2 separate regions of the Homo sapiens genome follow, and region 2 is linked to region 1. The links are contacts of gene promoters, found by promoter capture Hi-C in blood cells and fetal thymus (Javierre and others, 2016). All regions are on one chromosome and are shown on one strand. The core of a region is centred on a gene start or on the middle of the fragment in contact, and the rest is flanking DNA. Distances in the headings are between cores, read along the strand shown. Region 1 holds the start of ZNF385D-AS1 (ZNF385D antisense RNA 1). Region 2 has its middle 320 kb from the start of SGO1.

The links. The method cuts DNA at HindIII sites, captures the fragments that hold promoters and counts their contacts. A CHiCAGO score of 5 or more calls a contact.
Region 2: a contact is called between a fragment that was not itself captured here and the fragment with the promoter of ZNF385D-AS1 in region 1, in 1 of 17 cell types (M2 macrophages). The highest score is 5.6, in M2 macrophages.

What each region holds. Positions count from the first base shown.
Region 1 is chr3:21,540,367-21,548,039 of GRCh38, reverse strand. It overlaps ZNF385D-AS1 (ZNF385D antisense RNA 1), which reads right to left and starts at 5,251. Exons shown (of 3, transcript NR_046731.1): 1 at 5,045-5,251. All of the region lies in intron 3 of ZNF385D (zinc finger protein 385D), which reads left to right. RefSeq lists enhancers at 1-357, 4,103-4,683. The HindIII fragment of the contact is 1,504 bases long and covers 4,438-5,941 here.
Region 2 is chr3:20,503,425-20,511,001 of GRCh38, reverse strand. It overlaps the pseudogene RNU6-815P. Among named protein-coding and RNA genes, the nearest start is that of SGO1, 320 kb to the right of the region's middle. The HindIII fragment of the contact is 6,600 bases long and covers 1-6,565 here.

The DNA of each region.
Region 1 (7,673 bases), core at 4,002-6,501:
AGGAGGGGCCAGGCTCCTCCCCACTACAAACTTCCCGAGGTTACAGCTCAGTGGACAGGCTGGTTGGAGTTTCTCCAGGGACCCCCTCCCACCTGGCTGTCTCATTCCTCCATCTAAAGAAGTACGTGTGGCCGGGTGCATTGGCTCACACCTGTAATCCCAGCACTTTGCGAGGCCAAGGGGGGTGGACCACCTGAGGTCAGAAGACCAGCCTGACCAATATGGAGAAGCCCCGTTTCTACTAAAAATACAAAAATTAGCCGGGCATGGTGGCGGGTGCCTGTAGTCCCAGCTACTCGGGAGGCTGAGGCAGGAGAATCGCTTGAACCTGGAAGGCAGAGGTTGCAGTGAGCTGAGATCATGCCACTGCACTCCAGCCTGGGAGACAGAGCGAGACTCTTGTCTCAAAAAAAAAAAAACAAAACAAAACAAAAAGTACATCTAACTGCCCTTAGAATAAGAACGAAGACTGATCTTAACTGCTTTCTGCTAACAGGAGGCGCTATTTTGGGGAAGCGGCAGTCAGAGCTTCCCTAGAGGCCTAAGGGGTCCCAGCAGAAGGGGCTATCGTCAGACGCTCTGGTTGAATGACTGTTTGGAGTTTGATGTCCTGAAGGCAAGAACAGACAAACTGGGTTATTAGAAAACATGTATTTAAATGAAACAAGGGGAGGGGTAAGAACAGCTAAAAAATTCCAAGGCCTTTTACCAGTTTGCACAGGGAGAGGGAGGCCAAAAGCCCGACTGGTTAAAAAACTATGCTTTTGCTGGCAGGTTGGGCTTCTGGGTTCCCTTCTCCTGAGCCCAATCCTAAACCAACCAGTTTAAGGGTTGGGAAATTAACTCTTTCCAGTTTGGAGGCTTCATCTGAGGGGAGTCTCCCATAGTACAGAGACACAATTACATATCAGTGAAGAGAGGATCCGAGGAGAAAGGAATAAAAAGGCATTTTTCAAAGGAGTCCCAGGGTTTCAGCATGCATTCTAAAGGGATACAGGCAGAAGATGAATGGCTACCCATTTAGAAAGAGGGGAGCAAGTGTCCCTGGTTCCCTTCTCTTCCTATCAGATACCCAGGGTATGTAGGGCAGAGAGGGAAGAGTGTCCACTTTCCCTCTTCTGTCCTTGCATCCACGAGCTCCAGCGACTTTGGCAGGCACCACCGTGAGTGCAAAAGTGACTTGAACCCATGAAGCGGGGGGGGCTAGAGAATAGGAATTATCCACTCTCACCTATGTCTCTTTCCCACCTACTGCCAGTAGCCTTGGAGTTCCCTAGACCTCATTTATGCCATGGATATTAACGTGGCCTTTATCCATGAAACAGGAAGCTTGCGGCTGGCTTAAATGGCAGGAATCAGCCACACTCACCTAAGCTGTGCCTTTTAACCTCTGCTTGCCTCTGGATCCCTTAGATCCAGTTCTCTTTCCTAGAGCTTTGACCTAAAGCTTGGAATTGAGTCTGGGACAAAAATATGTCTCAGGGGGGTTGCATGGACTCCTTATCATAAGCCAAATCTAAGGTGAAACTGTGGAACTGAGTCCTCCTCCAACAAGGGAGAGGAAAGGATGTCTTGTGACATACCCATCTAACTGCTGGCTATAGTTAGGCTTGCTGGGATTTGGGTGAATGGTGCTTGGCTTTGGTTAGTTCCCTTGGTCTTACTTTCCCAAAAGGAAACCTCTGGGTGATGGGCACACTATTTATTCCATCACCGGATAGGATTTGCAGGATAATTGCTCAGAACTAGAGTATCAATCCGGATTCCTACATTACTCATCCTGTTAGTTCTTTCTGAGCTGCAGCCAGAGATTGCTGGTAGGGTCACAGGAACAAGCAGGGTTAGTGTAAAATGTAGGCAAAAACTTAAAAACAACTAATGAGTTTCAAATTTAATGACAGATGTATGGTAAGTTTGATGAGTTTTGGGACATAATTTCTCCTTCCAGTCCTCAATTTTGTTACCAAAAAAAAAATATGATAGGACTGAGTAGTTTGCAAAATAGACTTGGCTTGATTATTGGCATAAAGTACAGCAAGAATAATTATTTCTACAAAGGCCTTTTGTATTGGCTTTGATGGAAGTTTGTTCCACAAGGAATCTCAGATAAGACCTTTTAAAGCCCAGCCCAACCATGGGTTTGCATCCTCAAAAACCTGTGAGCTGGGTGATCCTCTCCTCTTGAGGTCCCAAGATAAACTTGGAGTTCCTAGACCTGTTAGAAAGTGACACTCTTTACTGAACACAAGTCAGGAACCCTGATTAGGGACTGTGTAGAGGAGGGTCTCAGGCCAGTCTCCCATGGAGCTTTTATCGGCTCTGTAAGTCGAACTTGACTCCTTATAGGGAAGCATACCCTTCCAGTCAAAGTCTTGATAAAATAACAGTTTTTTTCCAATTGTGTTCTAATGCAAAAGAAAAATGGATTTTTATTGCTGTCATCCAAACAACTATATTGCCATAAGAATACTCATAGTTTCCAAATTCTAGAGGAGCCAGGCAGAGGGAAACAAACATGCTCCAAATTCTGATCACAGGAGTGTATACCTTATTTATTAAAAAACTTTAAATAGTTCAAAATAAGTTTCCTTGACTCTGAAAAACAGAACATAGATCAGCAATATTCCAGGCAAAAGTCAAAAAAGTTGCTTCTGCTTTGAGTTCAGTCCATTTAGTAAACTCTTGCTTTGCTTGATATTCACGAGCATTTCAGCTCTTCATGAGTCTTGTACATTTTCCTTTATTCCAATGTTACAATCTCTAAAGTTATCACAAGTCTGTATTTGAGAGCACCTGTTAAAGTTCTATAGCTCATTTTAAACCATCTTTGAAAAGGATTAAAACAAGACAAAAATTGTCTGTGAATAGCAAAATATCCAGGGTAGTTACAGTTAGAAACACAACAGGGAAAGAAGTTTAGTTATCTCTATGGTTTACAATAACTTAACAACCTTCATTATGATTGATGGCATATACTTAGCCATTAGTTTTAGAAATCCCATACAATTTTCGAACATATGTTAGCATTATTCACCAAGATATAACCTAAGGAAGATTGAACATCATTTTGGCAATCCTGTATACGTGAACACGTCAAATAATCCTGTTTGCCTCTCTTTTCTGGACACTTCAGGGGCCCTCTGAAGTATTCGCAAAGCCAGGTGCCAGGGAAGACAATTTTGAAACTGAAGTTTGATTTTGGTTAGGCTGCTAAATGTTCGAGGTCTAAAACACTTAATATTATGAAACAGAATTCCAGATTGCCAAAAAGTTATTTATTTTGCCAAAATGATGACTCAGAAATTTTAAAGAAGCAAAAACCTTTCATGAATCTTTATAAATTTTGCCGAAGACCAGATTAGCATTTTAAGAATACCTTCTGATTGTATTTCAATGCTCAATTTGCAGAAAAACCACATAATACCTTTTTTTGAATTCAGTCAATATGTTCACACAGAGAACCTCTTTTTCAAGATTAATTTCCAGAATTTTTCCAACACTTCTTTGAACCTTCAGCTTTTTCCTAACTCAAAACAATCCTGTAACCCTAGGCGAAAGTTTACATTTCCACACCTTCTTATAACCTTTCACTAAAAAAAACACAAAACACATTTTACTGTTCCTACACACCTTGCATGCAAATCCATTTCTAGTAATGTCGATAAACTCCTAGCAATTTTTAACTTTAAGGGAAAACTTGATAAGTTGCCTTAATTGTGTGCTAACTGCAGCCACGTTTTGCCTTCTTAGTCAAGTCTGTGGTTAGTTCCATATGTCCCCAGGCCTTACCAATTGCGAAGCTGGCAAAGCAAATAGTTCTCAAAACCCAACAAGCAGTTTAACCTCAAAACACTTGCATCTGACCTGCATTTTACTAAGTCTTTAGGGCTGTTTTTATTTCTTAAAGATTAAAGCCACGTGAACTGAAAGGTACCACAGATTTTATCTGCCCTTTAAAAAATATTAGATCCAAGTGCTTGTCTTTCTTTAGGACAAATTAATTAGAACTCTTTTTACGGACATCACACACTACACACACACAAAAAAATCCAGTCGCTAGGTGGGGTCCTTTAAGAAACAGGGCTAGGAAAACATGCAGATATCAAACCAGAAAGAAACTTACTTCCTAAGGCAGGATTGCTAAACAAAGCCTTGCCACCAGTTACAAGCCATGCCCTCAGGATGTAAAACAACATGGAGGCTTCATTTCACAACCAAAACTTTGCAGAAAATATAAACAGCGATAGCTGCGGGGCTGGGGGGCCTACCTTAATACAACATCTTCTAGAAAGAAAGAAAAAAAGAAACTTTAAAAGTTAACTTGCTGACAGGACACAGAAGGGGAAAGAAAATCAACAGTTTAAGAATGCCTGGGGAAGAACCTCTTATTCTTATGCAACTGTTTCCTCCACCAGTTGCATAAGAAAAGTTAAAGCTTAATTACTGTCGGATGGAGTAGAACCCCTTGGGTGGGGAAGGGGAAGGCTGCAGACGCTTGTGGCTGGGAACCAGCCAACCGGCTGTGCGGGACCCTTAGGCCATGCATCCCAGCCCCGCAAGGAGTGGGGAGCGGCTGGGAACTGCTGCTCGCTAGTCCGTCTGGAAAAAGGAAAAGACCGTGAAAAGGCCCCCGACCCCCAGGAGCGACAAGGGGTGGGGAGCGGTCTCCCATATGCTCAGAAGTTGCAGGATGAAAAGTCTTAGAAACAAGGGTGAGCGGTTTTCCGAGATAGTCCCGCTCTTGTCGCGCAGGCTGGAGTAGAGTGGCGTGATCTTGGCTCACTAAAACCTCCGCCTCCCAGCCAGCTTCAAGTGATTCTCCTGCCTCAGCCCCCTGTGTAGCTGAGATTACAGGCGCGCGCCACCACACCGGCTTATTTTTGTATTTTTACTAGAGAGGGGTTTCACCATGTTGGCCAGGCTGGTCTCAAACTCCTGACCTCACGTGATCCGCTCGCCTTGGCCTCCCAAAGTGCTGGAATTACAGGCATCAGCCACCGCGCCCGGCCAACAGTGAGAGGTTTTGAGTCCCCCTTTCACTCACCTCTTCAAGAGCCCCAACGTTGCACGCCAAGAATGTTGCAGGACTTTTCCTTCCTTCATCTGAAGACTGGGTTCTTGTCCGTCCCAAGGCCAGGAAAATTTAGGTTTGGAGAAGGTTTAAAGGGTGAATAAAGCAGGGTTTTATCGAGTGAAAGTCGGCGGGAAGAAAAAAAGGGAAACAAGTTTCCTCCGCAAGGTCAGAGTTCCCCGATCGAGGCTTCCTGTCGGCCCTTGAAATCGCAGGTTCCACACAGGAAGAGGAGGGGCCAGGCTCCTCCCTATTGAACTTCCTGAGGCTACACCTCAGTGGGCAGGCTGATTAGAGTTTGTCCAGGGTACCCCCCTCACCTGGCTGTTTCAGTGGCACACACCTGTAATCCCAGTGCTTGAGGAGGTGGAAGTAAGAGGATCACTGGCAGGCCAAGGGATTGAGAGCAGCCTGGGCAACACAGCAAGACTATCTCTCCAAAAATCTTAAAAAATTAGCCGGGCATGGTGGTGCGCACCTGTAGTCCTAGCTACTTGAGAAGCAGAGGTTTGAGGATTGCTTGAGCCCAGCGGTTCGAGGTTGCAATGGGTACTGATCACACCACCGCTCTCCAGCCTGGGCAGCAGGCTGACACCTCATCATCTCTGGGAAAAAAAAAAAAAGAAAGAGAAGAAAAACCCAGGAATCTCTAAGATGGTTTAAGTTTCATAATTTCTGCATTTTGATAAAAATGAAGTTTAGGCTTCCTTTTCCACAGTGACTACTCTCTCCACAATGCAGGATTCATATCCTAAGTAACTGATTCTCTGAAACCTAAACATGAAAATTCACATATTTTTAAAGGGAAGTAAATAAGTGCAATTAGACTTGAGCATGACCTAGAAACTTGTTCTTATGATTCTGAAAGCTTGTTTTGTAGAAGCCTCCGAGTTTTAGTTTATTTGAAAAAAAATTACTATTGTCAAACATCCCCAAATTTTAGCTTTATGATTGTGAATATTTCAGAGTGCACCAGCGCTGATGAAATCTTTATTAGCTATGGAATAAAATCCTTGATGAAAACCAGTTGCCCACAAATTGCTGGATATACATATCTATTAAAATTTTAATCAGTTTTTTTGTATCTCTTTTTACAACTGTATACACTTCTTAAAGTATTAGTAGGCACTAACAAAACTTATAGAAACCAAAAGTAGAAACTAGATTAGTGGTCACCAATAATTGAAAATCTCAAAGATAAAATTTGCTCATTCCATTTCATTAATCCTAGTTCCTGTTTATCAAGACTCTTGCTTTTTTTGTTATATTTTGTTATAATTTATTTCAGCATATCATAAATAATCAGTTTCATCCTAGTCCTGAAAACTAGGACAGTAGGAGGGTTTGTTCCTGGTCAGATGAGCAAAGAAATTTAAGAAAAGGTAACTCATATTAATGTCTATTCCTGTGTAATTTGGGGTTTTGTGGCCATTCGTATCCTTCCCTTCCTAACAGTTGCTATTTGTTGTTGTCTAATTTTTACTGAGCCCTATCCTCTGTATTAACTAGAGTAATTGTGATGAAATAATTTACCTTTCTCAAGTGTCTCCATGGCCAAAAATGTCTATGTAGAAAAAATGAACTTTATTTTTAGAGCAGTTTGAGGCTCACAGTAGTATTAAGCAGAAGGTACAGAGATTTCCCATTTACCTTCTGCCCCCAAATCTGTGTAGCACCCATTCATTTTTAACCTTCTTCACACTAAAGTTTCTTATGGTGATTGGTTTAAGAGTGGTGATTTGGTTTTATTCTCTAATTAAGGGGAATGAAATTGTACCAGGCATGCATAAATTACACACTGCATTTGGATTACGTTGCTAGAATTTCTTAGATGACTTATCAGAATTTGAAAAGATGAATGTATTCTTTCATATTCTACAGATCTTTGCACAATCCAGGTACTACTATATTAGAACACTGTACTTACACCCAACACTGGCCCAGATTCACCTTTTATGAAGCCTACCAAACCTCATTTTAAATGCAAAATACTGCCTCTGGGATCTGTTGTCTCAGTCCAAATCTGTGTTTTGATATAAATTGAATCTGATAGTGGTAAAGATTGCAGTCGTTTGGGGAAGTCTTACCTCGTGAGGAGGGAGTTGAAGAGAAACGGAGGCAAGATATGCCATGAAAGTTTAATTCTCTGTGTACATGTGATTTTCAGTGGTACTTCGAGAAGTAGATCTTTTCATAATCACATAAGTAACATTCAGGGTATGTGGTTACTCTTTATTGGGCATAAATGAGCTTTTAAATTTCTTGTTTACGAAATCTGTGGAGATTGACGTATGGCAAATTATTCTTATCAGGTTTATCGGGACATCAGGTTCATCTTCACAACTTTTAACCTTCTCTTAGATTCCTTTATAAATAAGTTTTCAGAAGGTAGTCTCTGAACAGGTTTTATCCATTTCCCAAGCAGAGCTTATTTTCTCTGCATCAGCGAACTTGTCATGATAATCAACTTTTTTCGTCCCAACCATCAATCACTCTTGATTACAGCTGGGTAGAAGTTCTGTTCCGTTGATCAGCTCATCAGTGCACATAATATTACACCTGGAGGCCAGTACAAATCATCCCCCGAGGGGAAAAGCATTTT
Region 2 (7,577 bases), core at 2,016-4,515, 1.0 Mb after region 1:
AAGCGAATGCTAAGGGGATTCATTACCACTACGCCAGCCTCATAAGAGATTCTTAAGGCAGTTCTAAACACGGAAATGAAAGAAAGATACTTGCTACCACAAAAATAAATTTACGTACATAGTCCTATTATGGAAACAGAAAATAAAAAAAGATCAGGGGTCACCATTCTTATATCAGCCAAAACAGACTTTAAACCAAGAGTAAAAAAAGATAAAGAAATGTAATATATAATGATAAAGGATTCGATACAACAAGAAGACTTAACAATTCTAAATATATATGCACCAAACGTTGGATGACCCAGATTCATAAAACAAGTACTTTTAGACCTTCAAAAGTATTTACACAGCCACATAATAATAGTGTGGAATTTCAACATTCCACTGACAGAATTGGACAGATCATTGCGGCAGAAAACTGACAAGGAAACTCTGGACCTAAATTAAACACTTGCGCAATTGGACCTAATAGACATCTAAAAAGTAGCAAACACACCTACATCAAGAAGTTAGAAAGACCTCAATTTAACAATCTAATACTAGATCTAGAGCAATTTGAAAAACAAGAACAAAGTAACCCCAAAGCTAGCAGAAGAAAACAAATAACTATAATTGGAGCAAGACTGAACAAAATTGAAAGGCAAAAATTCATACAAAGGATCAAATAAAGCAAAAGTGGGTTCTCTGAAAGAATAAATAAACAAGATCAATTAACCATTAGCTAGATTAACACAGAAAAAATGAGAGAAAACCCAAACATGCAGAATCAGAAATAACGACTGATCTCACAGAAATATAAAGGATCCTCAGAAACTATTATGAACACCTCTGTCCACACAAATTAGAAAATCTAGAGGAAATGGACAAATTCCTGGAAACACACAACCTGCAAAGACTGAATTGAAAAGAACTTGAAACCCCGAACATATCAACATTGACTTCAGAAATTAAATCAGTAATAAAAAACCTACCAAAAATAATAAAGCCCTTGACGAGATGGATTCACAGCCAAAATATAGAGACATACAAAGAAGCGCTGGTAAGAATATTGCTGAAACTGTTCTAAAGAATTGTGAAGGAGGGACTCCACCCTAACTAATTCTGTGAAGCCAGAATTACCCTGATAGCAAAATCTGGCAAAGACACAATACAAAAAGAAAACTATAGACCAATATTCATGATGAATATAGATACAAAAATCCTCCACAAAATACTAGCAAATAGAATCCAGCAGCACGTCAAAAAGTTAATTCACCGTAATGAAGTAGGCCTTATTTCTTGCATATGAAGTTGGTTCAACATAAGCAAATCAATAAATGTGATTCACCATATACACAAAACTAAAAACAAAAACCATACAATCATCCCAATAGATACATAAAATGTTTTCAATAAAAGCTAATATATTTTCATGATAATTCTCAACAAACTAAGCAATGAAGGAACATAACTCAAAATAATAACAGCCATCTATGACAAAACCTTAGTCAACATCATACTGAGTAGGAAAAGCTGGAAGATTTCCCCCTTGAGAACTGGCAGAAGAAAAGGATGTCCTCTCTCACCATTCCTATTCAACATAGCACTGTAAGTGATAGCAAGAGCAATCACGCACTAGAAAAAAAGCATCCAAATAAGAAAAGAAAAAGTCAAACTATCTCTCTTCATTGATGATATAATCCTATACCTAGAAAATCCTAAAGACTGCCAAAAGGCTTCTGGAACTGATAAACAACTTCAGTAAAGTTCCAGGATACAAAATCAACGTACAAAAATCAGCAGCATTTCTATACACCAATAACATTCAAGCTGACAGCCAAATTAAGAATGCAATTATATTTATACTAGCCACCAAAAAATAATAAAATATCTAGAAATACACCTAACCAAATAGGATCTCTACAATGGGAATTTAAAAACATTGCTGAAAGAAATCAGAGATGATATAAACAAATGGAAAAACCTTCCACACTTATGAATTGGAAGAATCAACATTGCTAAAATGGCCATACTGCCCAAAGCAATCTACAAACTTAACAATATCCCTATTAAACAACATCAATTTTCAAATAATTAGAAATAAATATTCTAAAATTCATACGGAACCAAAAAAAGAGGTCAAATAGCCAATGCAATCCTACACAAAAAGAACAAACCCAGATTCATCACATTACCTGAATTTAAACTATACTGTACTATAAGCCTACAGTAACCAAAGCAACATAATATTGGTACAAAAACTGACATATAGACCAAAGGAAGAGAATAGAGAAACCAGAAATAAAGCCACACACATACAGCCATGTGATATTCAGCAAAGCTGTCAAAAATAAACAATGAAAAAAGGATTCCCTGTCCAATAAATGGTACTGAGATAACTGCCTAGCCATATGCAAAAGAATGAAACTGGATCCCTACCTTTCACCATATACAAAAATTAATTAAGATTGATTAAAGATTTAAATGGAAGACCTCAAACTGTAAAAATCCTAGAAGAAAACTTACAAAATACCATTCTGGACATTCGACTTAGCAAAGAATTTATGATTAAGTCCTCAAAAGCAGTTGTAATGAAAACAAAAATTGACAAGTGGGATCTAATTAAACTAAAGAGCTTATGCACAGCAAAAGAAACTATCAACAGAGAAAACAGACAACCTACAGAATGGGATAAAATATTTGCAAACATTGCATCTGACAAAGGTCTAATTTCCAGAATCCATAAGGAACTTAAACAATACAACAAGCAAAAGATTAATAACCCTAATAAAAATGGGCAAAGGGCATGAACAGACATTTCTCAAAAGAAGATATGCAGATGACTGACACACATATGAATATCACTAATCATCAAAGAAATGGGAATCAAAACCACAATGAGTTACACTAGTCAGAATGGCTATTACTGAAAAGTCAAAAAATAACAGATGCTGGCAAGGTTGTGGAGAAAGGGAAATGCTTATATACTGTGGAAATATAAACTAGTGCATCCATTATGGAAAGCAGTTTGAAATTTTCTCAAAGAACTTAAAATAGAATTACCATTTGACCCAGCAATCCCATTACTGGGTATATACCAAAAGGAAAATAAATCATTCTACCAAAAAGACACTTATACTTGTATGTTCACTGCAGCACTACTCACAATAGCAAATATACGGATCCAACCTAGGTGTCCATGAACAGTGGATTAGAAAATGAAAATATGGTGCATGGAATACTACATAGCTGTGAAAAAGAATGTAGTACCCACCTTAGCAGCACATATACTATTAATAACATTGGAAAAATACAGAGAAGGTCAGCATGGCCCCTGTGTGAGGATGACATGCAAATTTGTAAAGCATTGCATATTTTTTATAACACAATTGGAAGTATGAACAGCAGAGTATACTAGTCTGAGGAAAAAAAGAATCTCAGAGCTTGATGACCAGTTCTTCGAAACAACTCAGACCAAAATGAAGAAAAAAGTATTTAAAAAAAGGAACAAAACCTATCCAGCCAAACCAAGTTTCATGAGAAAAGGAGAGATAAAATCCTTTTTAGACAAGAACATGGTAAGGCAATTTATTACCACCAAACTGGCCTGAGAAAAGGTGCTTAAGGGAGTGCTAAACATGATAACAGAAGACCATTACAGGCCACCACAAAAACACAATTAAGTACATAGACCATTAACACTATAAAGCAACTACACAGTCAAGTGTACATAACAGCCAGCTAACAGTATGGTAACAGGATCAAATCCACCAATATCAATATTAACCTTGAATATAAATGGACCATACACCCCACTTAAAAGGCAGAGTGTCAAGTGAATAATGAAGCAAGACCCAACTGTATGATGTCTTCAAGAGATCCATCTTACATGCAAGGACACTCATAGGCTCAACATAAAGAGTTGAGAAAAATCTGTCTAGCAAATGGAAAACAAAAAAGAGCAGTGGTTGCTAGTCTTATTTCAGACAAAACAGTCTTTAAACCAACAATGATCAAAAAGGACAAAGAAGGGCATTACATAATGATAAAGCATTCAATTCAACAAGAAGACTTAACTCTCTTAAATATATATGCACTCAACACTGGAGAACCCAGATTCACGAAACACATACTTAGAGACTTGAGATACTTAGATAATCACACAATAATAGTAAGAGACTTCAACAACTCACTGATAGTATTAGACAGATTACTGAGGCAGAATATTAACAAAGATACTTGGGACATAAACTCAACATTTCACCAAATGGACCTAATGGATATCTACAGAATACTCCACCTGACAAAAATAGAATCTACACTCTTCTAATCTGCACATGGCATATATTCTAACATGAATGACACACTCAGCCATGAAACAACTATCAACAAATTCAAAAAAGATGAAATCATACTAACCACATGCTTGGACCACTGCACAGTAAAAATAACAATCAATACCAAGAAGATCTCTCAAAAGCATACAATTACATGGAAATTTAAAAATGTGCTTCTGAGTGACTTTTGAATGAAGAATAGAAATAAGGCAGACATCAAGAAATTCTTTGGAACTAATGAAAACAAAGTTGCAACATACCAGACTCTCTGGAACACAGCTAAAGCAGTTTCAAGAAGAAAGTTTATAGTGCTAACACCCACATCAAAAAGTTAGAAAGATCTCAAATTAACAATCTAATGACACACCTTGAGGAACTATAAAAAAGAGCAAAACCAACCCCAAAGCTAGTGGAAGAAAATAAGTAACAAATATCAGTGCTGAACTGAATAAAATGGACATGAGGAAACCCATACAAAAGATCAATGAAACCAAATATAACAGTTCTTTGAAAGGACAAATAACATTGATAAACCACTAGCTGAACTAATAAAGAAAAAAGAAAGAAGATCCAAATAAAGACAATCAGAAATGACAAAGGGAACATCATCAGCCACCCACAAAACACAGAAAACCCTCAGAAACTCTTGTAAATACCTGTAGGCACACAAACAAGAAAACCTAGAGACGAAATTGATAAATACTTGGAAACATAAAATCTCCCAAGATTGAACCAGAAAGAAACTAAAACCTCAAACAGATCAATAATGAGTTCCACAATTGAATCAATAATAAAAAACCTACCAACCAGATAAAGCCTTGGACCAGAAAGACTCTCAGTGGAATTCAACCAGACATATGAAGAAGCGCTGGTACCAATCCTACTAAAGTTATTCCCAAAAAACGAGAAGGAAGAACTCCTCTCTAACTCATTCTGTGAGGCCAACATATTGAGTCTCTAGCAGAGACACAGTGAAAATAGAAAACTTCAGGCCAACATTCCTGATGAACATAGATACACAAAATCCTCAACATAACACTAGCAAACACAATCCAGCGGCATATCAAAAAGCTAGTCTACCATGACCAAGTGGGCTTTATTCTTAAGATGCAAGGTTGGTTCAACATAAGCAAATCAATAAATGTGATTCATCACATATACAAAACTAAAACAAAAAAACACATGATCATCTCAATAGATGTAGAAAGAGCTTTAAGTAAAATTCAACGTGGCTTCATGTTAAAAACCTTCAATAAAATAGGCAATGAAGGAACATAGCTCAAAATAATAACAGCAATCCATGACAAACCCACAGCCAACATCATATTTAATGGATAAAAGCTGGAAGAATTCTTTTGAGAACTGAGAAAAGACAAGGAAGCCCACTCTCACCACTCCTATTCAGAATAGTACAGAGTGTCCTAGCCCAAGGAATCAGGCAAGATAAAGAAATAAAAGGCATCCAAATAAGAAGAGAGAAAGTCAAATTATCTCTTTTAGCAGACAACATGATACTATACCTAGAAAACCCTGTATTATCTGCCATAATGAAGACTCCAAAATCAAACACAACAAAAACAAAAAGTGACAAGTGGAAACTAATTAAACTAAATCTTCTGCACAGCAAAGGAAACTATACAAGAAACCATGAAGACACATTAACTCGTATGTTCATCACAGCACTGTTTAAAATAGCAAATATACGGAATCAACCTAGATATCCATTAACAGTGAACTAGATAAAGAAAGCGTGATTAAGGGGACAAGATGGTGGATAGGAGGTAGAGCTAATGTGCAGCTCCCACTTGGATAGACAGAATAGTGTGTGGAAACTCACACTGTGATCTTTTGCTCCAAGAACCACTGCAGGAAGGTACCAAACAAACTAAAAGAATTCACAGATCCTTTGAAAGAAGCAGCATGCCACTGCAAATGCCACAAGACAAGCAAAAATCTGTGAGTTCCCAAAGTGTGAGAGAGGAAAAACCTGCTTCCAAACACACATACCCACTGGAGAATCTGAAAACACAGATCATTGGGAAGGATTTAGCCTGACTTAGAGCTGAAATAGATGTAAAGAGTTATGCAAAATACAAAATATAAAAGTAGAAGCAGCAGTGGGAAGTTCCTTGCAGGCACTCCCAGTCTCCAGCTCAAGTCCAGGGAAGCCATCCTTGACTACATCTCACAGGGTCCCTAGGAGAAAATAGCCAGAGGAATAGGGGAGAGGTCTCAGGGTGAAGGAAGCTTCCAGCTGAAATTGGTAGTGGTTTTGACTGGGCATGATTTTCCTGAGTAGAGTCTAGGAGATGAGCAGGAGCTACCGCAAATACAAGTCCAGCAGCTGCTGCCAATGAAGTGGGCAGGCAGGGAGGGGTGAGGACCAAAAGCCAGGCTTGCTTTCTCAGTGGGAAAGCTCACAGCCTGGGGCAAGGTCTGAGCAGGGCACTGCAGGAGCAAGACTGGACTCATCAACCACTTGGGAGCTGGGTGAGGCCTCTCGCTATTGGCTATCCTCTATTTCCCTGGTGAACTATATTGACAAAGCAGAGGCAGCCAAGATTCCCTCTGGACCATAACCCCATCGGCCCAAAAACCACCCTCTGGCCCCCACAGTAGCCATGGCAAGCCCCACCTAAAGAGCCTGAGCCCAGACCCACCTAACCTTGCCCCCACCTGATGGTACTTCTCTATAGGCTCTCATAGTCAAACTCAAAAGATAAAAACTCTTGGGAGCTCTATGACCCCGCCCACTGCCTTAGAAACCAAAATACTTACACTGACTAATTTAGGGCAAGCTTTGGTCCCCCTACTACTACCACACAGCTGGTGCTCTCTTGAAAGTGCCACCTCCTGGCTGAAGGCCAACCAACTCAGCTCATTACAGCAACTCATGACAGAATAACCCTGATACCAGGAAGAAAACAATACCTAATTCCAATGCCTGCAACATCCTGGCTAACAGGGGTCCTGAGTGTGTCTGCAGGACAGCTTCACTGCTAGCATAACCAGCACTTGAGAAAGCCAGCACACTAAAAATATCTACAACCAAGCACTCTAAGAGAATCTATTTCACTCCCCTGCAACCTCCACCAGAGCAGGTGCTGGTATCTATGGCTGGGGCACCTGAAGTTGGACCACATCACAGGACTTTGCAGACATTCCCCAGCACCAGCCTGGAGACTGTTAGCCCCACTGGGTGGCTAGATCCAGAAGAGCAATAACAATCACTGCAGTCCAGCTCTAAGGAAGCCTCATTCC